Linked DNA regions of Homo sapiens: regions 1, 2, 3, 5, 6 and 7 are each linked to region 4. The links are contacts of gene promoters, found by promoter capture Hi-C in blood cells and fetal thymus (Javierre and others, 2016). All regions are on one chromosome and are shown on one strand. Each heading gives the region's core, a stretch centred on a gene start or on the middle of the fragment in contact. The rest is flanking DNA. Distances are from core to core; before and after follow the strand shown. Region 1 overlaps CHRM3 (cholinergic receptor muscarinic 3). Region 2 overlaps CHRM3 (cholinergic receptor muscarinic 3). Region 3 overlaps CHRM3 (cholinergic receptor muscarinic 3). Region 4 holds the start of CHRM3 (cholinergic receptor muscarinic 3). Region 5 overlaps CHRM3 (cholinergic receptor muscarinic 3). Region 6 overlaps CHRM3 (cholinergic receptor muscarinic 3). Region 7 overlaps CHRM3 (cholinergic receptor muscarinic 3).

Region 1 (3,642 bases), core at 77-2,576, 420 kb before region 4:
ACTGCTGGAATCTTATGGGTTCAGAAGTTGACCTTCTAAGGCCTTTGGATTAAAAATAGACTTCAGAGGCCGGGTGCGGTGGCTCACGCCTGTAATCCCAGCACTTTGGGAGGCCGAGGCGGGCGGATCACGTGGTCAGGAGATCGAGACCATCCTGGCTAACATGGTGAAACCCCTTCTCTACTAAAAATACAAAAAAACTAGCCGGGTGTGGTGGCGGGTGCCTGTAGTCCCAGCTACTCGGGAGGCTGAGGCAGGAGAATGGTGTGAACCCGGGAGGCGGAGCTTGCAGTGAGCCGAGATTGCGCCAATGCACTCCAGCCTGGGTGACAGAGCAAGACTCTGTCTCAAAAAAAAAAAAAAAAAATGGACTTCAGAGTCAAAGACCCAGACTTTGACAGGGTGAGGGAAATATCAACTCACCAACTTCTTCATTTCTTCCTTTTGTAAAAAGTAACATGCAGTGCTTAAGTGGGAACTTGACAAGACTTTACAAGTAGGAAAAAGCAGTATTCTAAATAGGCCTTTTCAATAACTGCTTGTCCACTGCACCAATACAAGCAGTCGTTTCTGATGGGTTTTCTAAGAGAGTGCTGATTTAATTCTCACAAACAGTGTATTTCTAGGAAATGCAAGTATTGGGGCAGTTCTTTGGAGGGCTATCACAGAAAGTACAGGAAAAGCCTGAGATTATGAATAAAATCAGTGGTTCACTCGCATTTCCTTCATGATCCACTTCTAGTTATAGGAAGCGGTAGGGCTTATCACGAAGAATTGGTCCAATCGATATGGCAAAAACTATCGCTAGGCATTTTAGGTGGCAAATAAGAGACTCTCATCTTTATTCCGTTAGATTTGATCTCGTACTACAGCTGGGAAAGATCACTCGCACAGGAGTGAAAACAGTTCACACAGCAGGTAATTAAGGCAGGATGAAGCTGTCCCCTTACCCACAGTGTCATTCTAGGGCAAACTCTGTCTCCCTTTGTTCGTATGTCCAACATGAATCTCCACCTTCTCTGTTGCAGATTAATCCTGTCCATAAAATGACCTAGCATTTTATTGAGTGGTATCAGAGCTGTACTGATTTACTCTGCCTGAAGGTCACATACGAGGATAAACAAAAAAAAGTATTGCAATTCCTTTCTGCACATCTGACTTCAGCTACGACTTGTCACAGGGAGCTGGAGAGCTTTCTCTAGGGCTGTCTTCCTCGAACTCCCATGGAATTTGAACTCCCATCAAAACACTGGGACTTTGGGGCTAGTCAGATATGGGGTCAAAACAACCAGTTTTTCAAAAAATAAAAAGGCAGACGATTACCGATAAAGAATTCCAAGGAATTTTGGAATATGTTTCTTTAAAAAACTTCATGTTTTATATAACTAATGAATATTCATTGCAGAACAGCTTGAAACAGAGGGAAGAAAAGAATAATGAGATAATCATAATGACTTATGATGCAGCCACCAAGCAGCAAATTCTTTTATCACTCTGGAATATCCCAGCATTTTGGGATATGTGTGCGTGTGTGTGTGTATGTGTGTGTGTGTGTGTGTGTGTGTGTGCGCAAAGCAAAAACACTCAATTACATGTACTCTCAGTTTCTTACAGCAAATCTGCTTCTCTTCTATATACTAAAAGGTATAAATGAGATTTTTAATGTGATTAAGTTGATGAGCTAAAATTTAACAGAGCATGTAAAGATCAAAGATGAAGTGAGGAAAGCCAGAAACATTTCACTTAAATATCTGAATGCAATGCATGATTACTAAGCCAAAGAAAAACTATTTATCTGGCCTGAGAATGTTATTTAAATCCCAGGCTCATTCATGCTAAACAGAGGCAACATTTTCCATTCACTTCTCCAAGGCTTCTCTTCTGGTGGAAGTAACCCCTCCTTTCATTCCCCCTGTAGCATTCCTATTTATGGGCTTAATGCCCACAATTGAGAAGGATAAGTTTAGAAGGTGTTCATTGCCAAAATGATGATATTTAAATGGTAGGTCAATTTTAAACAAGGTGACTTTTTCAGGTTGTGCCAATCTGTAAACATTATTCTTGCCATAGTACTATAAATGAAAATCCAATAATAAAAAGGCCAGAAGAAGAATTATTTAGAATGATGTATTAAGGAGTTGGAGCTACTTTTCTTTCTCTAATGAAGTAAAAAGAAACTGCATTTTAAAGTTTAAAAAGTCACATAATCTTCCACCTAAATAGGACTTTTATTTCTTTTATGTTCTTATTGTGTTCACAATCAAAACCTGCAGAAGAAAATATTTGTCAAATCATCACATTTTGCTTTTGGATGCAATCATCTAATACCAACCCCAAATAAAGAAATTATATTAATGGAAATTTTCATTATTATCACCATCAAAACTCATGTGGAGCCAGGAACAAGTAGAATATTCTCTGGCTTGGGTGCAGCCTATGGAATGACGGCAGGTACTACTCTCAAAACAGAATGTACGCTTCTTTGGAATTCTTCTGTGAACAGTTTATTAATTTTACGCCTTGAAAGGTAATGGAAGTACACCTAGTATTGCCAGATACTCTATCTCTTCTTCCAGCATTTCTCCTTATTGGCCAGCATTGCCTATTCTGAACAACTAAAAGAAATTAAAAAGTTAAAATGTACCTCTTTTTTAGAAAGCAGAGATAGCATGCAGGTATGTGTATGTTTTCTACAATATCTACAATATGTGCGTTTCTCAAAGCGAACACAGTAACTTTCGTCTCCAAGAGGAAGCCCTGCCTGTATGGCTCATCCCCACACTCCCAGCCACGTGACTTGCAACTATGCAGGCCTAATGCATCTGGCCTACTAATTCACTTACTGCTCTCCATTTAATTCCTGCAGTCAATCCTATTTTTTCCTAAGCACACCCATCTGCTCCCAATAGATTCAACAATTACAATCTCTGGATGTCCACAGGGGTGTGTGTGTGTGTGTGTGTGTGTGTAACTCCATCCTGGATGTCCACAGGTGTGTGTGTGTTGTGTAACTCCATCCTGGATGTCCACAGGTGTGTGTGTGTGTGTGTTGTGTAACTCCATCCCATTGGATACTGCAGGTCTGCTTAACACCTGGAAGTGCAAGTGGCTTCACAAGCAAATGAGGCCAAAGCAATTTTAAGCAGACAGTCGGGAGACTGGAAGATCAGACATTCTGAGGTTTTTCAGTTGTTGTTCAAAGCTGGGAAAAAGGTGCCACTGAATTAGAGGCTGGCAGCTGAGGGCTAATTACGACATCTCAGAACTTCTCTCAGGGATTTTCAGCCAGGAGTGGAGTCAGGGTTTGAAGTGGACCTATGCCAAAGGTGTCTGAGCCGGCTGGGTTCCCCCACAGACTAGGGAATCAAAAGCTTTCAAAATGCAGAATCAAGCTCCAAGAGAGATTCCTGTTTTGTTTTGTTTCGTTTTTAACGTGGTAATGAAATTGCAACTATCAAGATGCCAGGAAGAAACCGTGAAAGCAAACCTCTTTAGAACTAACCAAGAAGGGAAATCAAGTGCTTTTATGTTAGTACAGTTAATAATAATAAAAATAATGAGGCCAATAATAATCTTTGCAGAGTGTTTTATACTTCGTAAAACATTTTAAAGTACACTGGTTCATTTAGCTCTTACAATAAT
Region 2 (3,922 bases), core at 459-2,958, 470 kb before region 4:
TTTCAGCTACACAGACTGATTTATCAATTCTACCCTATCACTTGCTACAGGTTGAGCATCCCTAATCTGAAATGCTCCAAAATCTGACATTTTTGGAGTGTTGACATGACACGACACCACAAGGGGAAAATTTGACACATAAGTACTTAACACAAACTCTGCCTCATGCAGAAAATTATTTAAAACACTGCATGAAATTACATTCAGGCTATGTGTATAAGGTGTGTCTGCAACATAAATTTCATGTGTACACTTGGGTCACACCCCTAAGATATCTCCTGATGTATGTGCAAATGTTCCAAAATCCTAAAAAGTCTGAAACCTGAAACTCTTCTGGTCCCAGGCATTTCAGGGAAAAGATACTCAGCCTGTACATGTATATTTAGAAATAATTAATAGATAAGCATATCTATAATAATTTTAATTTTAAAATGCATGTATGCTTTTATACCATGTTTGCTGTTAAATGCAGAAATGTGGGTATTCATACATTTAGTAATAATGTTTTTGTATAGTACTTTTATAGCTTACAGTGAATTTTCATAAAGATTATTATGGTTTCATTTTATAAATGCAATATCAGACTTGTTTATGTAATTAAGTGAATTGCCTAAGGTCACAGACCTAGTAAATGAAGAGCTGACATTGGAATAGAGATGCTCTGATTTGAGTTTAGTGTTCAGCTCCAACTCCCTGAGAAATTCTAATCATCTGCCAATTTTTTAGGCTGCTTTCTTTTCTGTGTGGCTGCATACAATTTAGAGAATGGGTGCTTCCTTTCAACCAGCCGACTGTCGGGTTCTCTGGGCTACACACTGCAGTCTGCATTGTTGGAGGCTTGGTTTCAGAGTATTCCTGAAGGTCTTTTAGAGTTCACCTGGGGACATGCTTGTTCTCTTTGGTTTACTGTTTGCAAAGTACTGGTCCACATGCTTTACGTATAATAATACTATACTTATTTTGAGATTAAATGACTATATATATATATATATATATATATATATATAAAACACTTAGAACTTATATATAATTTAGAACAATGCCTGATATACGGCATGCACTACATAAATACAACTTATTTTTCAATAAATCTTTATTTAAAAAACAGTATGGCTGGGAGTGGTGGCTCACGCCTGTAATCCTAGCAATTTGGGAGGCTGAGGCAGGCGGATCACTTGAGGTCAGGAGTTTGAAACCAGCTTGGCCATCATGGTGAAACCCCATCTCTACTAAAAATACTAAAAATTAGCTGAGCATCGTAGTGCATGCCTGTAATCCCAGCTACCTGGGAGGCTGAGGCTTGAACCCGGGAGGCGGAGTTTGCAGTGAGCAGAAATTGTGCCACTGCACTCCAGCCTGGGCAACAGAGTGAGACTCCACCTCAAAAAAAAAAACAAAAAAAAAAAACAACAACAACAACAACAAAAAAAACAGGCCAACAAATCCATAAAAAGATGCTCAACTTCATTTGTTATTAGGAAAATGGAAGTCAAAAACCACAGTGAGATACCACTTTATGGCCAACAGGTTGGCCAAAATAAAAACCAAATAGAAACAAACAAAAAAGAACATAACAAGTATTAGTGAGGATGTGAAAAAACAAACTCTCATACACCGCTGGGAGAATGTAAAATGTTACAGCCATCTTAGAAAACAGTCCATAAATTATTTTAATGGTTAAACGTAGAATTACCACATGACCCAGTAATTCCATTACTAGGTATATGCCCAGAAGAAATGAAAACATATGTCTACCTGAAACTTGTACATAAATGTTCATAGCAGCCTTATTTATAATGGCCAAAAGGTGGAAGCAACTCAAATTTCCATCAACTGATGAATGGATAAAAATGTGGTATTTGCATCCAATGGATGATTAGGCAGCCATAAAATGGAACACGTGGTACAAGGTGGATGGATCTCAAAAACGTTCTGCTAAGCAAAAGAAGCTAGACACCAATGGTCACATACTATACAATTCTATTTATATAAAATATCCACTATATGCAAATCCATAGACACAGAAAACAGACTGGTAGCTGCTGGGGGAGGGGCTCTAGGAACAAATGGGGAGTCACTGCTTAATGGATGCAGGGCTTCCTCTAGGGTGATGAGAATGCTGTGAAACTAGAAAGAGATGACAGGTACCAACACTGAATGAATTAAATGCCACTGAATTGTGTACACTTTAAAATGATTCGTGACTAATTTTACGTTATATAAATTCTACCTTAAAAAACCAAACAAACGCAAAAAACCCAAATTGTAAGAGGCAAGTACAATTATTCTCTTTTTTTTTTTTTTTCCAAATGAAAATACTATGGCACATAAAGGTTAAGACACTTGCTTCAGGTTTCACAGGTAGTTAGAGGAAAAACCAAAACAGGAATCTAGATAGTCTGATTTCAGGTAGTCAGACTCCAACTACGATACTTACATTCCTCATGTTATTCTTTTCTGCTGTTCTTTGATTTGATTCAAGTGACAATAAAAGCTAAAACCGAGCTCTAAAGGGGGAAGGGTGGAGAAGGAAAGGGATGACTCAACATATACTTAGAGTGAATGCATTCATGTGTATGATTAAAGAACAATGTCACTTGGTTCTGCAATATTGTGAAATCGCAGCAAGGATGCCAGCGTGGGAGAGCTATTGAAAACTGGTCAATGGATTTAATTGTTGAAGTGTTCTTCCTTTCTAATTAGTGCATCATTAAGTGAATTAAGTGAAGTCATCTTGCTCTTTGGTAACCAATGAGAATTATGATGAGACACAGTAGGAACCACATACACATTTATAGCCATGTTATTAAAGTATGAACTATTTTAATTAATAATATATATCAATAATATATGTCAATTAATTCCCCCTTTTTCTGAGGGATCACATAAGATAATGTTCGGGGCAACTTCAAATAATGTTATAACAGAACATAAGATGTCTAAGATTTCAGACAGGTGGCAATAGTGGCAAAACATGATTAAAGACCTATGGTAATTGCACAAACACTTTGTTGGCTAACAAATTATTTTAACCTTTGTGCATAACTAAACTAGAAAGGCTGGCTTTCATTTATTATGATTATCCACCTCCCTTCCAGGTCTCTTTCTGGACCTAGCTGAGGTGAAACAAAGACACCGAGTGATATATCAAATTACTCTAAGAGAGCCTCTGGCATCGCTAAATAATCAGAATAATTTAACAACCATTTCAACAAAAACAAATGGCACACAGTAGTTCAGTTTCCAGGGATTCGTTTGGAATTATAAGATAAACTTTAAAAAGATGTTTTATTCCTAACTTGATTTTTACTTCACACACACACAAACACAGACACACCTCACACAAAGTGATTATTTCATATTTTTTTCATCCTTCAAAGCAATAAAACTTATCTTTAGGGAACAGATTAATATTTAACTTATTCGTGGTAGTATCATAATAAACTAACTTGGGAAAGGCTCCTTAGTTTTAGATAGTAAATATGAGAGATTCTGGTTCCAAATGGAAGTGTCAAAAATATTTCTATTCTGGCTCTTTCCCTATGGGGCATGTGTTGAGACATTATCATTTCCCTTATAAATATTGAGATCGGTGGCTGAAAGTTATGTGTCTATGTTTTTTGCTTTAGCAACTTTCTGTATACCTAAAAGTTGCCACTCACTCATTTCTACCCTCCTGGTTTTTATCTCAGTTTCAAGGCCATCAAACAGCCTCCTAAGCAATCATTCAAGTTTTAAAGAGACTCTTGAATGCTGCTTGTTTTCAGGAAGCTTTCTCCAGTCAAGTTTCTGCTCAAAGAATACAAGTATTCACTGGCCATCTCTTCTTTTAATTTAGCAGGTGATTAATTACTATTAATGTGCTACAGAGAATATTGTTCATTTGAGGGCTTGCTTACAATTTTCTGTTGAGATGAGTTTT
Region 3 (3,562 bases), core at 513-3,012, 490 kb before region 4:
CATGGCTTCCTTGCCTGGGGAATTTTCAGATTGAAAGAAAGACACCTGACAGATTTATGGATGTTTTAATAAACACAGGCAAGGCAAAGTTGGCTTCTGAGCTAACACATGGATATAAATACCAGACTGATAAAACCTGGAAAGCACAGGCCGTTCTAATGATCCGCAGAGGCTGCTTTGGCTGTGCTGTTTCAGGTGGTGCTTCGCAGGGTGGGCCAGCAGCAGCAGAATCTCCTGGGAGCCTCACAGAAATGCACAAGCTGGGTGCGTTGGCTCACACCCGTAATCCCAGCACTTTGGGAAACTGGGGTGAGAGGACTGTTTGAGCCCAGGAGTTTGAGGCTGCAGTGAACTATGATCAGGCCATTGCACTCCAGCCTGGGCAACACAGTGAGACCCTGTCTTAAGAAAAAAATGGAAATGCACATTCTTGGGCCCCATCCTAGACCTGCTGACTTGGAAATTCTGGGGGTGATACCCAGCAATCAGTGCTTAGACCAGTTCTCCAGGCAATCCTGAGGCAAACTTAAATTTGAAAACCCCTGACGTAAAGGAGTTTGGATTCATTCTCTCTGTTGTACCTCTGCACTTGCCACTGTAGACCTGTAAAGTCCTGTCTTACCCTCCATGGCCACCTGGTCAACCCCAGCGAGATGCTGCTGGAGCCCTTCCTCCTCAGGCTGAATTAGGGGTGTCCCATCTAGGCAGTTACAGAGTGACCAGCATGTACCCTCACGTGGCAATGAGTAAACTGACCTGTATTTTAACTATCTGATTCTCACCTCCCTTAACACCTGTAATCATCTGAGGGCAGAAGCCTGGTCTTAATCATCCCCTTTGCCCTCATGTCCGACAAGCTACCTGGCCCAGAGTCAGTGCATGGATATATAGGGCATATATATGGTATATATGGTGAGGGAGAAAGAAGAGAGATTTCATTAAAAAAAAAAAATTTAAAATACTGAGAAGATAGTCATTACTGTATATAGCCGGGATCTCCAAGATGCAGGCCACAGACATGTACCAGTCTGTGGCCTGTTAGGAACTGGGCCACACACTAGGAGATGAGTATGGGCCAGCAAGCGAAGCCTCATCGGTATTTACAGCTGCTCCCCATTACTCTCATGACTGCCTGAGCTCTGCCTCTTGTCAGATCAGCAGCAGCATTGGATTTTCATAGGAGCACAAACCCTATTGTGAACTGCATTTGCGAAGGATCTAGCTTGTGTGCTCCTTATAAGAATCTAATGCCTAATGATCTGTCACTGTCTTGCATCACCCCCAGATGGGACCATCTAGTGGCAGGAAAATAAGCCCAGGGCTCCCACTGCTTCTACATTATGGTGAATTGTATAATTATTTCATTATATATTATAATGTAATAATAATAGAAATAAACACTTTGGGAGGCCGAAGCGGGTGGATTACAAGGTCAGGAGATCGAGACCATCCTGGCTAACATGGTGAAACCCTGTCTCTACTAAAAATACAAAAAATTAGCCGGGTGTGGTGGCACGCACCTGTAGTCCCAGCTACTCGGGAGGCTGAGGCAGGAGAATGGCATGAACCTGGGAGGCAGAGCTTGCAGTGAGCTGAGATCGCACCACTGCACTCCAGCCTGGGCGATAGAGCGAGACTCTGTCTCATTAAAAAAAAAAAAAAAGAAAGAAATAAAGTGCACAATAAATGTAATGCACTTGAATCATCCAGAAACCACCCCCTCCTCTCCTCCCCATCACAGAAAAATTGTCGTCCACAAAACTGGTCCCTGGTGCCAAAAGGGGACTGCTGGATATGGCATTATCTGTAGAAAGAAAAAAAAAATCTGAATATTTCCCCTCATGAGAAGAAGCATGAAGCAGCCCATTGACACCTGGGTTTGAATTCTTTCACAGAGCTGTACGGCCTTAAGAAATTCAATTCACCTTTCTTAGCCTCAGTCTCTGCATCTATAAAATGGAGATATTACTTTCTGCAGCAGTTTTGAAAGTTATAAATAATATATAGCAGTATCTGGCATGTAACAGGTGTTAACTAAAAGGAAACTGACATTATTATTCACCAGTTAGGGTTTATTCACCACGTAGTTGAAAGCCATTCATTTTATTCTCTCCTTTCTTTTTTTTTTTATTTTTATAGAAATGGGGTCTTGCTATGTTGACCAGGCAGGCCTTGAACTTCTGGCCTCAAGTGATCCACCTGCCTCAGCCTCCCTATTAGCTGGGACTACAGGCATGTGCCACTGCCATTTTATGCTTTTAAAAAATAAAACTGTGGCTCCCCTGAAGCCCCTAACTTCCTATAGAATTTTAAAGAAAAATGCCTTGATATTTCAAAATAAAAAAACTTTCAATTAGTTTCCAAAGGGATGATTCACTAGAATTTAAATTACCTATGAGTACCTTTTATAGATTAAAATTGCAAGCAAACAGGATGACTCTGTGTGTGTATGTCTGGGTTTCAGAAAAAGAGAGAGATGGGGCATTTTTAACCTAAATTTGCTTATTTTCTGTAAGTCTTTTCTAACTCAGAGATTTTTCCAGACATTTTGCACTTGCTGTCTCTGTTGAAGATACCAACTATGATTCATAGAAGGTGAAAACAAAATGACATTTATGTCTTTTCCTGAGAGTTGTTCAATAAGTAGATGACTTCTTGCAAATGTGCCTGCTTTGATGAAACCCCAAGCTAAGCAAATAAGAGTAAGGGTCATGAAGTGAGTGCTGAGTAAACACTAGGGAACTGATTGTCAGCCTAACCCAAAGAGAGAGACATATATATAGCATACCCCAAAGGCCGAGTAACCTCAATTGGCTTCCTACTTTCTGCTGTTTATTCCTGCCCTTCTGAGGCATGTGATTGACCAGAACAGGACAGATGGCATCCTCTGTCCCAGGAATGCATATCTGGGACTGAACGGCAGTCAGTGCATCCCATGGTGGAGGCTGGTCTCATGCACAGTGGAGATGTATATCTATGAATGTCATCTTCCACTCACCATTTATATAGAGACATAGAGAGAGTTGGTTTGCAGAGGAAACTGAGGCACAGCTGAAGACACAGAACTGCTAGGATCCTAATGGCTTTCCACGTTCCAGTTAGGGCCTTCCATAAGCCTGGCTCTCTTCTTGCCCTCGGATTGCCTGAGATACCTCGCTATCATGTCACCAATCCGCCCTTTTGCTTACACTACCTCCAGCTGGTTTCCAAAACTGATATAAGCCATAGCAATGTTGTGTTAACAATAAATGCATACCAATAATTTAATATTCAGAAACAAGATCAATATGAAGGGAGTGGACTATGTCTGTGTATAATTAATTGTTCAGTTATATAAGAAGATGTCTTAAAATGAAGCTGGCTATTCAAATAATTCCTATAGAATGGGCTAATACTACTAAGATCTGAACGAGAGATTAAACTGGACCAACGAGCTGAACATATTTGCCACTTTCGGGTTTTGAATGAGAAACAAAAGTGAGTTCTTTAGCACGTCACCAGTGGGAAAGGTATGGCAATCAGCTTTTTTGATGCTCTCACCTCCACAATTCAAGGATTGAGG
Region 4 (3,666 bases), core at 11-2,510:
TTCGCCCAAGTGTTACTCGAAGTGCCAAATTTGCCTTCTCGCCCCCTGAAATGCAATCCGAACTTGCGGCCCCACTGCGAGGTTGGCGGGTGCCAGCTTTAGCCTTCTTAGAAATGACAGGAAACCAAATGGGGAGATGGGAGACAAACGCTCAACACACGAGTGCGCTCACAAACACACCCGGAGCCCAGTAGCTCCTCATGCTCGGGCACTTTGGAGCCTCAGATCCGGCAGTGGCGAAGAGAGAATCGAAGCGAGGGAGAGCGGGGTGGGACGTCCCCGACTCTCTCCCGGCCACCGCTCGCATGATTCCCGTCCCTTTCGGGGCACTTGAGTGCCAGCGGGCGTTCCCCACCCTCAGTCCCAGAACTCCAACTCCGCACCAGATCGCGCTGTCGGAATTCAAGTGCCCCCATCTTCCCCAAATCAACAGCCTCTCTCGTCCCTACCCAGCCCCTTCTTTGGACTCCAAACACAAGACCTCTCCTACCCGCGCCGAAAACTTTTTCCTCCTTTCGCAACGAGATAAGGCAAGAAACCAGGTCAGCCGCTACCGCCACCCGCTCTGCCCAGCGCCTGGGTGGCGGGCGCCGTCCCTACCTGGCAGCTGCGCTCCAGGTGGCTGTCCCACGCCGGTCTCCGCGCCTGCCCGGTGCGCGGGTGGCGTCCGCTCCACCTTCCCTTCGTCTCCTCCGGCTCCGCGTTCAGGGAGCGACTGTCCTTAAGATCGTGCCCCCCTGCCCGGAGCCGCCCTTCAGTTCATCGCCCGTCTTCCCAGAAGCGCTGCTGCGGCCCCGGCGGACTGATGAGGAGCCTGGAGATCCGCGATGGCACCGATGGCCCCGCGGTGTGCGCTCCGGGGTCTGAGAGCGCTCCGCCCGCGGGCAGCTGCGGCCGCGCGTCACATGCCGCCTCCGGGCAGCGGCCGCGGCACCTGCCCAAGCGGCAGCGCTCCCGGCTCGGCAGTGCCGCCCCCGCGCCCTGTGCTCCCCTGCACGCTCCGGCCCTTTCTGTTCACGCCCTTTTCCCTCTGTCTCCCGCCTCACTTTTTCTCTTCTTTCCGTCTCCTTCTTTATCGTGTATTCCCTTTCTCCAAAAGCAGAGAGAAGGCGCTCCAAGGGGGAGGAGAGGTCTTTTCCTCCCCACGAACTCTTCCTCTGCCTGGTGGTGGCGGTCGTGGCTACTGCTGGCCGCTCCTCCTCTCCTTCCTCCTCGCGTTCCTCCTGCTCCTCCTCCTCCCCGGACTGAGAGAGCTGGTGTAATGCACAGGCTGCGTGCTTGAGACCAAAACCTGCCCGGCTTCTGAGCATGCCCAGTTGCCCTGCCGGCGCCTAGCTCCATTCCCGCGTGCCCGCTGGGCTCCGCGTTCTCCGCCTGGCAGGGGGCGAGGAGATCCCAGGGTACTCCTGGGGTGGGTTGGCTGAAAGCGGAACACCAAGCAGGAGAGAGGGGGGCCTCACCCACCCAGCATGGCCTCACCTGTTCCCAAATTGTGCCTCCCGCGGCGCTTCAAAGATAGATTTTGCCGGTCTGTTAGTTTTGTTGTGTTCGCTTTTAAATTGGTTTCCCTGGACTGCTTAGAAGGACTGGAAGGAATTCGATTCCTTGGGCACAACTTATCGATGAGTGAACTTCAGCTCAGTTACAATATACGACTCCATGGCAAACCTTTCTCTAAGGAACAGTCTGATGCATCTACTTTTTGACATTTAGTGAGTCTGTTTCTGCAGAGCAGTGTAATAGAGGACGACTTGACTTTTCCCTCCCTGGACAGTTACACCTTGGGAGAAAATAAGACAAGCATCCATGAAGAAGACACTGACGTGCACGCGCGCGCGCGCGCGCGTACACACACACACACACACACACACACACACACACACACACACACTTTTTTAAATCAGAAAATAAAATGAAAGATATAACATTGCTAGCCAGTCTTTTAAAGCTCAAGAGGAATGAAAATCTAAGAAAGAAAGAAAGAAAGAAAGAAAGAAAGAAAGAAAGAAAGAGAGAGAGACAGAAAAGGTTATTATGTACTACTGCCAGCTAACTATGTAAGGAAAAAGTGGAGAGATACCAAATTTGAAAAGATACCAATGAGGCTGTCCCACGGCACTCTCGAGGTTTTGTTTAAAAAGCACATAAGGAAAGATAACAGAGGAATCTCACAAGAAAGGACAAGCATAACAATGATAACTGAAAAAGAAGAAAAGAAAGAAAAAGGAAGGAAGGAGGAAGATAAAAAGAAGAAAAAAGCAAGAAATTGAAGCATAGTATGAAATGAAATATTTAACAATATTAAAGGCAGCAAATGATTTTAATTCTATTTGGAACAAGAAGATAAATAGGAAAAGATAGAGCTCTTTGAAAAATTAAGTAATTCTAAGAGATTAGAGAAACACCAGTATATGAATTCCTTTCTGAACCTATATTCTTCTCTAGGTAGAACAATCTTTAGGAGAGAAGAGACTAAACTTTGCGTAGAAAAGATTGAGATCATGCTGGGAAAATAGCTAGTGAGAAAGCATGTGGCTACTTAAATTAATTAAAATATCTAGGCTTAGGTAAATTGCATCCAGGATACTAGAATAGTAATAATAATAACAATATTGTAGCCTTTTTATTGGGATACCTCTCAGAAGAAAATATAACAGTTACTTTCAGATACTTCTTTAATCTTTAAAACAATCAAATGAGTATTTTATCCTTGTGTACTAAAGGAGAAAGGAATTTAAAGGAATAATTTAATTGTCCATTATATAGCTAGTAAGAGGAACATGAATTCGGATTTAATATCTTTCCCATTACATAGAATTGTTATTTGCCTGTGGAAACAGGAGTAGCTTTGATAATATTGATCCATAAAGAACAGGCAAGGACCAAAAGAATGGACAAGTAGTGATTATGTAGTTTTCAGAGAAAGACAAAAGTTATTAATTTTTAATGAAAATATTCTGGTATGTATACAATGGTTAAGTTTGAGACTGGCCTCTGGCAATGTTCTGGAGAAGATACTGAAATAAATCATTTGTGACTAGTGAGAAAAGAAAAGGAAGCAACTACAATTTAGTAAAATAAATCATACCAGATTAAATTCATTTCCACTTGTAAATAGTCACTAAACTCATAATACAGTATTTCCTGATTTCAGCTAACCTTCCCATTATCATTATGGACAAGGTAAATGTAGATGGCATGTTTGTATCAAACAAATTACAGTTTAGACAGAGTTGCCTCCAGTTTCTTGGTAAGTGGATTCATGCTGGGCTTGAATAAGGTATTGGTCCTGACCTTGGTGCCCGATCATTCAGCAGATTTATCAAATTATATTTCAGAGGAAAATATAAATGGGATACTTAATAGATCTGAGAATGAACCAAACTGGAGGCAATGCTTATTTACAAGATGCCAAAAATCAGAAACCAAAGAGTATTTACCTTTGGATTTTCATCTAAAATGAAGGAAATCAGCTAGAACTGGAAAATACTTAGAAATCCTGCATTTTAGGTTTGTTTAAAAAAATACACAAGATAAGCAAAGGATTTATGCAGTTATGAAATGAGACTCTGGTTCTGGACAATTAGCTAATAGCACTCACTTGCCTTTCTACCATAAAATAGCTATAAAACCTGGAAAAACTATATCAAACATTTTTTACTTCTG
Region 5 (3,455 bases), core at 756-3,255, 440 kb before region 4:
GCAACTTTGGTTTTATTTTTTGACATGGAGTCTCCCTCTATTGCCCAGGCTGGAGTGCAGTGGCACAATATTGGCTCACTGCAACCTCCGCCTCCTGGGTTCAAGCAATTCTCCTGCCTTAGCCTCCCAAGTAGCTGGGACTACAGGCACGCGCCACCACACCTGGCTAGTTTTTTTGTATTTTTAATAGAGACGGGGTTTCACCATATTGTCCAGGCTGGTCTCGAACTCCTGAGCTCGTGATCCGCCCGCCTCGGCCTCCCAAAGTGCTGGGATTACAGGCGTGAGCCACTGTGCCAAGCAGTAAGCAACTCTTATCCATGTGTGTTCCACAGACATTTCATTTCTGAATCCTGAAGGCATCATGTTAAATTTCACATACACCGCTTTAAGTCACACATATTTTGACTGAGGGTGGAGAGGTAAAGAATGTAATATTAATATATTTTCTAGCATTTTGCATGTATTATCTCTTTTAGTCCTAACAGCAACCTCAAGAAGTACATATTTTAATCTTTATTTGACAGATGTATGAATATAAGCTCAGAAAGAATTTCCACAAATACTTAGGCCCACTAAATGAGCAGGGCAGGATGAACTGAGTTCTTTCAGATTTGAAAATCCATGATGTTTTAAAAAGGCATATTTCACAAACAGTCCATCCTAAATGACAGTTCCAAGGCCCAGGTATCATTTTGCTATTAAATTCCTTGAAATAATCGCAGAGATTTCAAATATCAAGTATTTTTCAAATTCTTCAAAAATAGAGGCAGGTACAGTATTTGAGTAGAGACAAAAATAGTAATTATAAGGGGCTCTTATTTGGTGTTTCTATGTGTCAGGCAATGTTCTAAGTGCTTATTGGACATTAAGTCATTTGATTACCCTAGCAATTCTGAGGCTCTGAGGGAAGTACTACTGTTATTCCCATTTTAGAGATAGGGAAATTGAGCACAGAGAGGGTGAGTAATTTTCCCAAGGTCACACAGTAAGTGGCAGAGCTGGGTTTCACATCGAGGCAGTCTGCCTCTGAGACCCTGCTTTAACCACTCTGCTGTGCCATCTGTCCTAGCCTTCCCCAACCTGAAGACCACATGAGTCAAACAATTTTTAGTAAAACTGTTATAAGATGAAACACAAAAGATTGATATATTGAAATTTATCTGAAAATACATGCTTTTTTGGTATAGAAAGTAAAATACAGTAACAGATAGCAGGTGTTTTATAACTAAAGTTGCTGGAATAATCCTTGATCTCAATGGAAACCAAGCCAATCAACATAAAAAATTTAAAATTTCTTTTCTTTTTCAAAAAAAAAAATCATTCAGTCCTTGCAGTCAATTGAACTAATGCCTTCCCAGTCCCAGGGGGCTGTACCAACTGGGAAAATCTTTGACCAAACTGACACCAATACTATAGCTTTTGGTAGGAGAGGCACAGACTTGCAAAGCTAGCGGTTTTTCTTACTTTATAATTGAGGAAACCGAAGCTCAGAAGGGCCAAAATTCCCACTGTTGGAATTAGACTTAGAACTGCCAGTTCTACTCATACCTACAGTTAAACAATCCACTTCGCCACAGAGATTCATTAACTTCACTCTGCTTTAATCACAGAGATGGAAAGAAATTAAAACAAAGCAAAACAATAACAGCAACAACAAAAGCAACGTCAAGGACATTTCAAGAAAGCAAGTGTCTGCACACCTGCTGCAGCAGGTCACATATAGTCACAGATCTAGCCCTCATAGTGTGCATCCCATGCATCAGCAGGTCCCTTTGGCTCTACTTTAAATTTGCCCCAAATCTTAGTCCAAGCCATGACCATTTCCTGAAAGTCTCTGAAGTGATTTCCTTTGTTCATCTTAGATCTCCTCCCATCCGCTATCCGCACAGCAGGCAGAGTGACACTTCCAAAACCTAACTCAGATCACATCATTCCTTAGCACAGGGTCCCTCTGATATCCTCCATTTTCTTAGAGCAAAATCTGCATTGATATTCTAGCTCCCAGGTGCCTTCCCGACCTTCTCTCATACCCCTCTCCCCTTGCCCACTGTTCTCTGTCCGTTCTGCATCTATGCTGTTCCGGGAATACTCCAAATGTGCTCCCACCTCAGGCTTTTGCACCTCCTCGTTTGTCTTCATTGACCTGGTCCCTTCCCAGAGAGCACCCTCACTTCAATCAGTTCTTTGCTTAAATGTTATTATATTAGACTGTCCTTCCCTGAATACGCTATAGAAGCCATCTTATTCATGCTCTACCCTTTGTAATAATTTTTCTTCATGCCAGTTATGGTCCCACAACATTGTGTGTGTATAAGTGTGTGTATATATACACCTGTGTGTGTATCTATGTATGTGTACCTATATAGGTGCATATATATATGTGTATATATCTGTATGTATGTATACACACGTGTATATTTATGTGCATGTGTCTATGTGTGTATTTATGAATGTATCTATGTGTATGTATATCTATGTGTGTGTAACTATGTGTGTCTATGTATGTATGTATGTGTCTATATCTATGTGTGAATATCCGTATGTGTATATATGTGTATCTCTGTGTCACCATGTGTGTATTTGTGTGCGTGTATTTCTTTTTCCTAACAGAAACAGAATCTCAAAGGGAGCAGTAGCTGTGTTTACTTCACCATTGCCTCCCTTGTATCTAGAACGTAGTAGGTGTTTAATAAATATGTGTTGAATGAGGAATGAATAATTTATGATAACAGATATCTGAAACACAAAGTTAAATTGTCTCCTAGGTGTTAGAAAAAAGAATGTAAAGAATTACATGCTGCACTTTATAATGATTTTTTAATTTAAAATACATTAAAGGTATTCTAGTTTTTCACACTTAGACACTGTAAAAATATTTGCAGTTCAATGTGACTTACTGCCTCGAATGAATTAATGAGCAGGGAAGGTTTTATTGTTAGGTGGCAACTATGTTGAATTTTTTTTTGTGGGTTAAATTTGTATTTATAAGATTTTTAAATTATCTGTGCATAGTAAAATATATGATGTTTATTAGGTTTATACAATCACTTAGCAAAAATAATATGAGTAATAGGTAATTTTTAGTGAAACGTGCTATTTCTAGGTACTAGTCTAAACCTTTTACCCACCCTATGTCATTTAATCTTCAAGAAGCCTGTGCAGTAGGTAGGAACTATCATTACCTTCAACATATAAATGAGGAAACAAAGACACACAGAGTTAAAATATCCTAATTGAGGTCACGTAACTAATCAACAGTGGCCAGAATACAAAAAGGCAATTTGTCCATTCTTCTATTCAGTCATCCATTTTTTAATTAAAAAAATGCCTTCTGTGTACTTACAATCTACCAGGAACTGAGTTATGTAACAAGGATGCAAAACAGTGACATAATCTCTACGGTCATGATGATCCCGGCATAGGACAGAGGAGTGGACCAGATGTCAGGCTGC
Region 6 (3,851 bases), core at 84-2,583, 390 kb before region 4:
AATTACAGGAGTTATTCTCATCCTCCCAAGTCTAGGGATTGAAGCATGATTGATTACAACTAGCCATCTTCATCTTATTTCCCTTGACTAGTGATTGATAGCTAAAGGGCCAAGTGTGAGGGGCCAATGGAAGGTAGGACTGCTAGTGAGGACTTCCTTTTCAGAATTATAAGACAAAGAAAAGAAAGTCTTTTGCTCCTTTACTTTCATTCCTGCCTGGAATGTGGCTGTGATTTCTGGTAGTGCAGTAGACACCTTGCAACTGTTATACAAAGCAATGAGAATGGGAATGAAACCCAACATAGTAAGAAATAGCAAAAGTAAAGATGGAAAGAGGCTGTTCTCTTAATGCCAGGGTTAAGTAGTTAATTCAATAGCAGCAACTACCTTCTTCCAGACCTCTTCATATTTGAGATAAGTAAACAGTTACTTAAGTCATTAATAATAGGGTATTTTATTAATTGCAGCTGATAAATATAGCTATAAAGTCAACTTAGACTAGAATGTGCTATTCGATGAACAATGTAAAAAGCTTTGGTTTGTGTTGGTTACTTAGAAGATGCTGAGAATACCTACAACCTTTCGGTGGTACAGCAGACCCAAGTATGCACTCCCCTCTTACAGATCATTAGTGAGTAACCCTTTCCTAGATCAGGACATTTAAAAATTGTTGACATATGAGTGTATGTTGTAGACTTTCCCAAACATTTTAAATTTCAGTGTCAAAATCTCCCTATCATATCACTAAGAATCTCAAAACATCTCAAAAAAGTCTTCCTCTGTATAGATTGAATGAGTGTTTACCAGGTGCTAGGCTCTGTGCTGAGTGTGGGGATTCAGAAATGACAAAACAACATCCTTGCTTGAAGACACTTAGTCTGACAGTGGAGATGAAAAATAGAAACACGTATGCATTAAAATAAAATGTTGGAAGCAACTTCTGCCTTTAGGGGACAGGAAAGACATGAGAGAGGAGGGATATCTGGCTGCGGCAGTGAGGTATGGGTAAGAGCTTGTTGGAAGGAAAAGCAGGGCAAAAGCTATTCAGAGAAACAAGGGGTAATTGTATAGAGAGGGAGTCACAGAAAGGCATCATGTACAGTGGGGTAGGAGAATTTGCAAAAAAGGACTGGAAGATAGGAAATGAGACCAGAGCAGACTGTAAACTGCTGTAAATGCTCTGACAAACTGCTTAGAGCTTAGCCTGTAGACAACGTAGAACAATAGAAGGCCTTTAAACAGCAGAGAATAGGGTCGGATCTGGGGAGATGATTCATTACTTCAACGTTTTTCTGTAAGATAACTATAATACACAATCATGTAAAAATTTAAATAACAAGGAAGTATAGGCTGGGCATGGTGGCTCATGCCTGTAATCCCAGCACTTTGGAAGGCCGAGGTGGCCGGATCACCTGAGGTCAGGAGTTCGAGACCAGCCTGGGCAACATGGTGAAACCTCATCTCTACGAAAATACAAAAAATTATCCGGTTGTGGCGGTGCATGCCTGTGATCCTAGCTACTCGGGAGGCTGAGGCAAGAGAATCGCTTGAACCCGGGAGGCAGAGGTTACAATGAGCTGAGATTGCGCCATTGCACTTCAGCCCGGGTGACAGAGTGAACCTCCGTCTCAAAGAAAAAAAAAGAAAAGTATATACATAGAAATGGAAAGTTTCTTTCTTTGTCTTCATACCCACCCCTCTCAGGGGAAGATGCTAATAACAATTGTTGTATATTCCTCTGGACTTTTCAATTTTACGCACACTGTATCACCTATTTTATCTTTCTTTTGTTTCTCTTTGTATGTCTCTATCTCCTCTCTGTCTCTGTATCTATCTTTTTAACCAAGATAGAACCACAAAGAAATAGAGGATATTTTTGTAGTTTACTGTTTGACCTAAGAATATACTGTGGATATCCTTTCCTGTCCACACATACAGATTGACCACACTGCTTTTCATATCTGCATATTTATCTAAAACAGGGCTTTGAAACCTATGGGCCTGTAGGCCAAATGTGGCATGCTGTCTGGAAGACAGCCACACCCATTTGTGTGTGTATTATCTCTGGCTGCTTTCTTGATATAAGGGCAAAGTTGAGTAATTATGACAGAGGCTGCATGGCCCTCAAAGCTTGATATATTATAATACTATCTGCCCCTATACAGAAAATGTTTGCCGACCCTTGGTCTACATTATGTACACACTAGAATGAATTTCATCATTTCTGCCTTGACGTCCACTTAGGTCACACAGTTATTTTGTCACAAATAAGGCTGCAACGAATAACCTGATACATCTTTGTGCTCAGAAGCGAGTGTTTCTGTAGGAGAGTTTGCTAGAAGTGGAGGTGCTGTATGAACAGATTTCCATTCTTTTTTCTTTTTTGGCGGGAATCCAGGTGGCAGTGTGGAGAGGAGTCTGGAGCAAGGAGTCTCAGGGAATGAGATCAATTAGGAGGCTATTCCAATAATCCAGGGCAGAGAGGAGGCAAGCCCAAAGGTGCAAACGGAAGGAGGCTAGAACTGAAGAGATATTTGCGAGGAATTATTGAGAATGATAATTGGATGAAATGAAGAAGGGAGAGGGCGGCTAACATGCTTCTGAGATTAAAAGTTTGGGTAACTTATTCACTGAAAATAAAAAATCAGCATCATCTGAAATGTGAAACTAATAAAGGATGTTTTACTTGAATGTCACCTTTTTTTTTTTTTGAGATGGAGTCTGGCTGTGTTGCCCAGGCTGGAGTGCAGTAGGATGATCTTGGCTCACTGCAACCTCTGCCTCCCAGGTTAAAGCAATTCCCCTGCCTCAGCCTCCATAGTAGCTGGGATTACAGGCACCCACCACCAGGCCCAGCTAATTTTTGTATTTTTAGTAGAAACAGGGTTTTACCATTTTTGATCAGGCTGGTCTCAAACTCCTGACCTCAAGTGATCTGCTCGTTTCAGGCTCCCAAAGTGCTGAGATTACAGGTGTGAGCCTGTATCTTAAGACAAATTGATATAAAACTCACTTGGGTACTTTCATTTTGAGATAAGCAGGCATGATTATGAACAAAGGCTTGTGGTTCCTTATATCACCAATGATAATTATTTTAAGTCTAATAGTTCCCTCTGCAGCTGTCATCACTCAGGTCCCTCTACTTTCTTGGGCATGGAAAACCTTTCCTGGTCATTCAAGCAGTCATCTTCCGCTCAGTCCTTTCCTTCATTCCCCATAACTGCAGACTACGTGGCTAAGGCAAAGATCCTTGAACCCTTAAAATCGTGATTATTGAAATTTTTATCCAGGCTCTTAGCTTTCTTCTGAAGCACATCTTCATAGGAGGGCATATATTTCCTGTCTATATCCTCAAATCCCAAGTTAAACCAATTTTCACATTTCACTAAGATTATGTCTTTCACTTGACCATTTTTTTGTTGTTGTTGCCAAAAAATAAATTTACCATACTACAGGCATTACTGATTAAACTGAGATGAGGAAAGGGCCACAAAGCCAAATGAATCTGCAAACACATACACTGTCTAGGCCCACCCACTGATCTTGGAGCCCATTCAGATCTAGGCCTCCACAAACCTACGTCCCGTGAATTTTAGGAGCAACAACACATGCTTGAAATGAAAGCTAATAAATCTGAAAATACCATAGGTCGGCTGTACTCTCCAAGCACTGTGGAATTTTCCACAGTCAGTGTTCAACGTATTTTGATATAGAGCTTTTGTGAGTATGAAACCAGAGTGCTCCAGAATCTAAAAAGTACTTGAAAATGAGGTAAGATCATTACGTTTGGCTTTTTTGGTTAGTTTTTGTAATTTTTAAGTGGGAGGTGCCCCAGTAACAGACTTTAGCTA
Region 7 (3,467 bases), core at 672-3,171, 400 kb before region 4:
CCTTCTCAATGAACTCTTCTCTGTCTTCTTCTTTTCTAAACCAGTATTTGAAGCAGGATTGATAAGACTGAATACGTATATTTACAGACACATGCACCCACTATTGTAGGTCTTGTATCTGCCAATCTACCCACTGTGTTTCTGGTAGCCACATGCCCCCATTGCTGTCTCATGTTCACAGCTGAATCCATAGACTTTCAAGCCCATCTCTTTATACAACTCGTTGAGGATCTGCTTCCTCCTTTCTTACCCATCTCAGTGTCTGTGCCTATGTGCCTAATGAAATATCACCAACCCTTTTCTTTCTTTTCTTTTCTTTTTTCTCAAGCTCTCTGAGCTGGCAGAGATTATACTGAGCCCTCTGATTGGTTTGTGATCTCCCAAGGCAAAGCCAGTCTTAGGATGGCAGGGAAAATGTATCCTTGCCTCACACATCAGAAAATAAAACTGATTAGAAAAACAGAAATGCCTGTAGTAACATTTCTACAGCCACTAAAGAGGTAGCCACAATCCTACCAACTCACTCTTCCCAAGTCTCCCTGCTTAGCAGATCCTTTCATGGTATTACTGAAATTGCTCAACATGCCCCTTTTAAAGAAATGTTTACTGGCTGGGCATGGTGGTTCACGCCTGTAGTCCCAGGACTTTGGGAGGCCAAGAAGGTTGGATTGCTTGAAGCCAGGAGTTCGAGACAAGGCTGGCCAACATGGTGAAACCCTGTCTCTACTAAAAATACAAAAATCAGTTGGATGTGGTGGTGCATGCCTGTAATCCCAGCTACTCAGGTGCCTGAGGCAGGAGAATTGCTTGAACCTGGGAGGCAGAGGTTGCAGTGAGCCGAGACTGCATCACAGCACTCCAGCATGGGCAACAGTGAGAGACCCTGTCTCAAAAATAAATGAATAAACAAAAATAAAGAAAAGCTGTGGGACATGCTAGTTTTGTGTGTTTTTTTTTTTTTTTCTCCAGGAGCGACTCCTACAGATATTTTCCTATTTTTTGGTGATATTTTACCAGAAAAAAACAAAAAACAAAATAAAATCTCTCTTGTTTTTCTGTGAATAAATTTTATCATGCTTTTTCATTTTAACAGTACTTTTCACAAACTTATACATGTTTTACATTATGGAGTAGATGAGACTTTATCCTGCCATTGACTCTGATGTCCACAAAGCTATATTTTGAGGCCCAAGCACAGTCCTTGCTCTATCACATTTGTGCTCCAGGAAGTTAATGAGGTTTAGGAACTAATATTCTGTAAAAGAGGTCAGGGAGCTTTTCTTCAAATTTTAGATCTGCTAACAGCTTTGTGATTCTCTGCCTAGGTTTCCACAATTGCCAGGCTAGACAGGGGAAACTGATTGTAGTGGTCTGTTCTTATGTGGCTAATAAAGACATACCCAAGACTGGGTAATTTATAAAGAAAAGAGGTTTAATTGACTCACAGTTCTACATGGCTGGGGAGGCCTCACAATCATGGTGGAAGGTGAGTGAGGAGCAAAGTCATGTCTTACATGGTGGCAGGCAAGAGAGCTTGTGCAGGGGAACTCCCCTTTATAAAACCATCAGATCTCATGAGATTTATTCACTACCATGAAAACAGTTTGGGGGAAACTTCCCCCATGATTAAATTATTTCCACCTGGTCCTACTCTTGACGTGTGGGTATTACTACAATTCAAGGTGAGAATTTGGTGGCGACACAGCCAAACCCTATCATTCTTACCCTGGTCCCTCCCAAATCTCATGTCCTCACATTTTAAAACCAATCATGCCTTTCCAACTGTGCCCCTAAATCTTAGCTCATTTCTGCATTAACCCGAAAGTCCACAGTCCAAAGTCTCATGTGAGACAAGACAAGTTCCTTCTGCCTATGAGCCCGTAAAATCAAAAGCAAGTTAGTTACTTCCTAGATCCAATGGGTACGGGCATTGAGTAAATACACCTAGGGTACAGGTATTGAGTAAATACACGGGTTACAAATGGTAGAAATTCGCCAAACGGGGGCTACAGGCCCCATGCAAGTCTGAAATCCAGTGGGGTAGTCAAATCTTAAAGCTCCAAAATGATCTCCTTTCACTCCATGTCTCACATCCAGGTCTCTGATCTTAACTATTCTTCAAAAGACTAATGAGGAATCTGCAAAACTGAGCTAACTCCACACTTATCCAGTGTGGCTGGGAAAGCGGTTGCTAAAGTTTGGATGTTTGTCTTTCCAACCCTCATGTTGAAATTTGATCCCCAGTGTTGGAGGTGGGGCCTAATGGGAGGTGGTTGGGTCATAGGGGTGGACCCCTCATGAATACATTATTGCCCTACCTGAAGTTGGGGATGGTGAGTAAGTTCGCTCTTAGTTCCTGAGGGAGCTGGTTGCTAACAGGAGCCTGGCACCTCCCCACTCTCTCTCTTGCTTCCTCTCTTTCCATGTGATCTCTGCACATGCCAGCTCCCCTTCACCTTCCTCCATGAGTGGAAGCAGCCTGAGGCCCTCATCAGAAGCAGATGTTGGTGCCACACTTCTTGTATAGCCTGCAGAACTGTGAGCCAAATATGCCTTTCTTCTTTATACATTACCCAGTCTCAGGCACGCCTTTATAGCAATGCAAAATGCACTGAGACAGTGGTGTTCTGCTTAATGATGGTAGAAGTATATTCCTGTTTCATATTGCTTATTTATTGTTCAGAGACTGCTTAATCTTCGCCAAATTAATTTTTCTTCCTCCAGAGTATACAACTAGATGACATTTTCCAGTCTCCTTTGTAATTAGGCATAATTTGAGCACTGGCCAGTGAGACATGACAGACGTAATATGCATCACTTCAAACCTGGTCTAGTACCCTCCAATGACCACATCTCACATGCTCTTTTCTCTTCTGAATGGGTGCAACGAAGACACCTTTAGTGTGACCTTGGAGACCACATTTGAACATGGTGAAGCCAAAGGATGGAATGGTCCTCAAATCACTCAGAGAAAAGACGCCTGACCAGGAAGACCCCAAGTGGACTCTTACACAAGCGAAATATAAGATAATGCTGTTTTAATCCACTGGGATTTTAGAGTTTGTAAGTTATATAATAGTTAGAATTACTATAACTAATACACATTAAATATCCTTTCAAAGAATTAAAATGGCATAAAATATACTTTACAATTGAATGAAAATTTCATTTTTTGTAGATTTAAAGTATATTACAGTCTTTCGCTCAGGGTTATCACTTGTTTGTTTTGTTTGTTTATTTTGTTTTTGAGACAGATTCTCACTCTGTCGCCCAGGCTGGAGTGCAGTGGTGCCATCTCAGCTCACTGCAACCTCTGCCTCCCAGGTTCAAGCAATTCTCCTACCTCAGCCTCCCGAGTAGCTAGGATTACAGGTGTCTACCACCACGCCTGGCTAATTTTTGCATTTTTAGTAGAGATGGGGTTTCACCATGTTGCTCAGTCTGGTCTGGAACTCCCGACCTCAAGG

What was found. The method cuts DNA at HindIII sites, captures the fragments that hold promoters and counts their contacts. A CHiCAGO score of 5 or more calls a contact.
Region 1: a fragment that was not itself captured here is called in contact with the fragment with the promoter of CHRM3 in region 4 in 6 of 17 cell types (naive CD4 T cells, naive CD8 T cells, total CD4 T cells and 3 more); the score reaches 10.2 in naive CD4 T cells.
Region 2: a fragment that was not itself captured here is called in contact with the fragment with the promoter of CHRM3 in region 4 in 8 of 17 cell types (activated CD4 T cells, naive CD4 T cells, naive CD8 T cells and 5 more); the score reaches 10.6 in activated CD4 T cells.
Region 3: a fragment that was not itself captured here is called in contact with the fragment with the promoter of CHRM3 in region 4 in 11 of 17 cell types (total CD4 T cells, non-activated CD4 T cells, total CD8 T cells and 8 more); the score reaches 17.8 in total CD4 T cells.
Region 5: a fragment that was not itself captured here is called in contact with the fragment with the promoter of CHRM3 in region 4 in 6 of 17 cell types (naive CD4 T cells, naive CD8 T cells, activated CD4 T cells and 3 more); the score reaches 7.9 in naive CD4 T cells.
Region 6: a fragment that was not itself captured here is called in contact with the fragment with the promoter of CHRM3 in region 4 in 1 of 17 cell types (naive CD4 T cells); the score reaches 6.6 in naive CD4 T cells.
Region 7: a fragment that was not itself captured here is called in contact with the fragment with the promoter of CHRM3 in region 4 in 5 of 17 cell types (total CD4 T cells, activated CD4 T cells, naive CD4 T cells and 2 more); the score reaches 7.9 in total CD4 T cells.

Annotation. Positions count from the first base shown.
Region 1 is chr1:239,805,745-239,809,386 of GRCh38, reverse strand. All of the region lies in intron 5 of CHRM3 (cholinergic receptor muscarinic 3), which reads right to left. Among named protein-coding and RNA genes, the nearest start is that of CHRM3-AS2, 88 kb to the right of the region's middle. The HindIII fragment of the contact is 4,094 bases long and covers 1-3,373 here.
Region 2 is chr1:239,856,905-239,860,826 of GRCh38, reverse strand. All of the region lies in intron 6 of CHRM3 (cholinergic receptor muscarinic 3), which reads right to left. Among named protein-coding and RNA genes, the nearest start is that of CHRM3-AS1, 41 kb to the left of the region's middle. The HindIII fragment of the contact is 4,131 bases long and covers 1-3,773 here.
Region 3 is chr1:239,875,992-239,879,553 of GRCh38, reverse strand. All of the region lies in intron 6 of CHRM3 (cholinergic receptor muscarinic 3), which reads right to left. Among named protein-coding and RNA genes, the nearest start is that of CHRM3-AS1, 22 kb to the left of the region's middle. The HindIII fragment of the contact is 5,293 bases long and covers 1-3,562 here.
Region 4 is chr1:239,384,162-239,387,827 of GRCh38, reverse strand. It overlaps CHRM3 (cholinergic receptor muscarinic 3), which reads right to left and starts at 1,260. Exons shown (of 7, transcript NM_001375978.1): 1 at 601-1,260. RefSeq lists enhancers at 1-37, 38-538. The HindIII fragment of the contact is 9,736 bases long and covers 1-3,666 here.
Region 5 is chr1:239,827,270-239,830,724 of GRCh38, reverse strand. It overlaps CHRM3 (cholinergic receptor muscarinic 3), which reads right to left. Exons shown (of 7, transcript NM_001375978.1): 6 at 3,347-3,455. Among named protein-coding and RNA genes, the nearest start is that of CHRM3-AS1, 71 kb to the left of the region's middle. The HindIII fragment of the contact is 9,020 bases long and covers 1-3,455 here.
Region 6 is chr1:239,769,948-239,773,798 of GRCh38, reverse strand. The region is part of intron 5 of CHRM3 (cholinergic receptor muscarinic 3); the gene reads right to left. Among named protein-coding and RNA genes, the nearest start is that of CHRM3-AS2, 53 kb to the right of the region's middle. The HindIII fragment of the contact is 1,598 bases long and covers 535-2,132 here.
Region 7 is chr1:239,788,546-239,792,012 of GRCh38, reverse strand. All of the region lies in intron 5 of CHRM3 (cholinergic receptor muscarinic 3), which reads right to left. Among named protein-coding and RNA genes, the nearest start is that of CHRM3-AS2, 71 kb to the right of the region's middle. The HindIII fragment of the contact is 5,345 bases long and covers 1-3,467 here.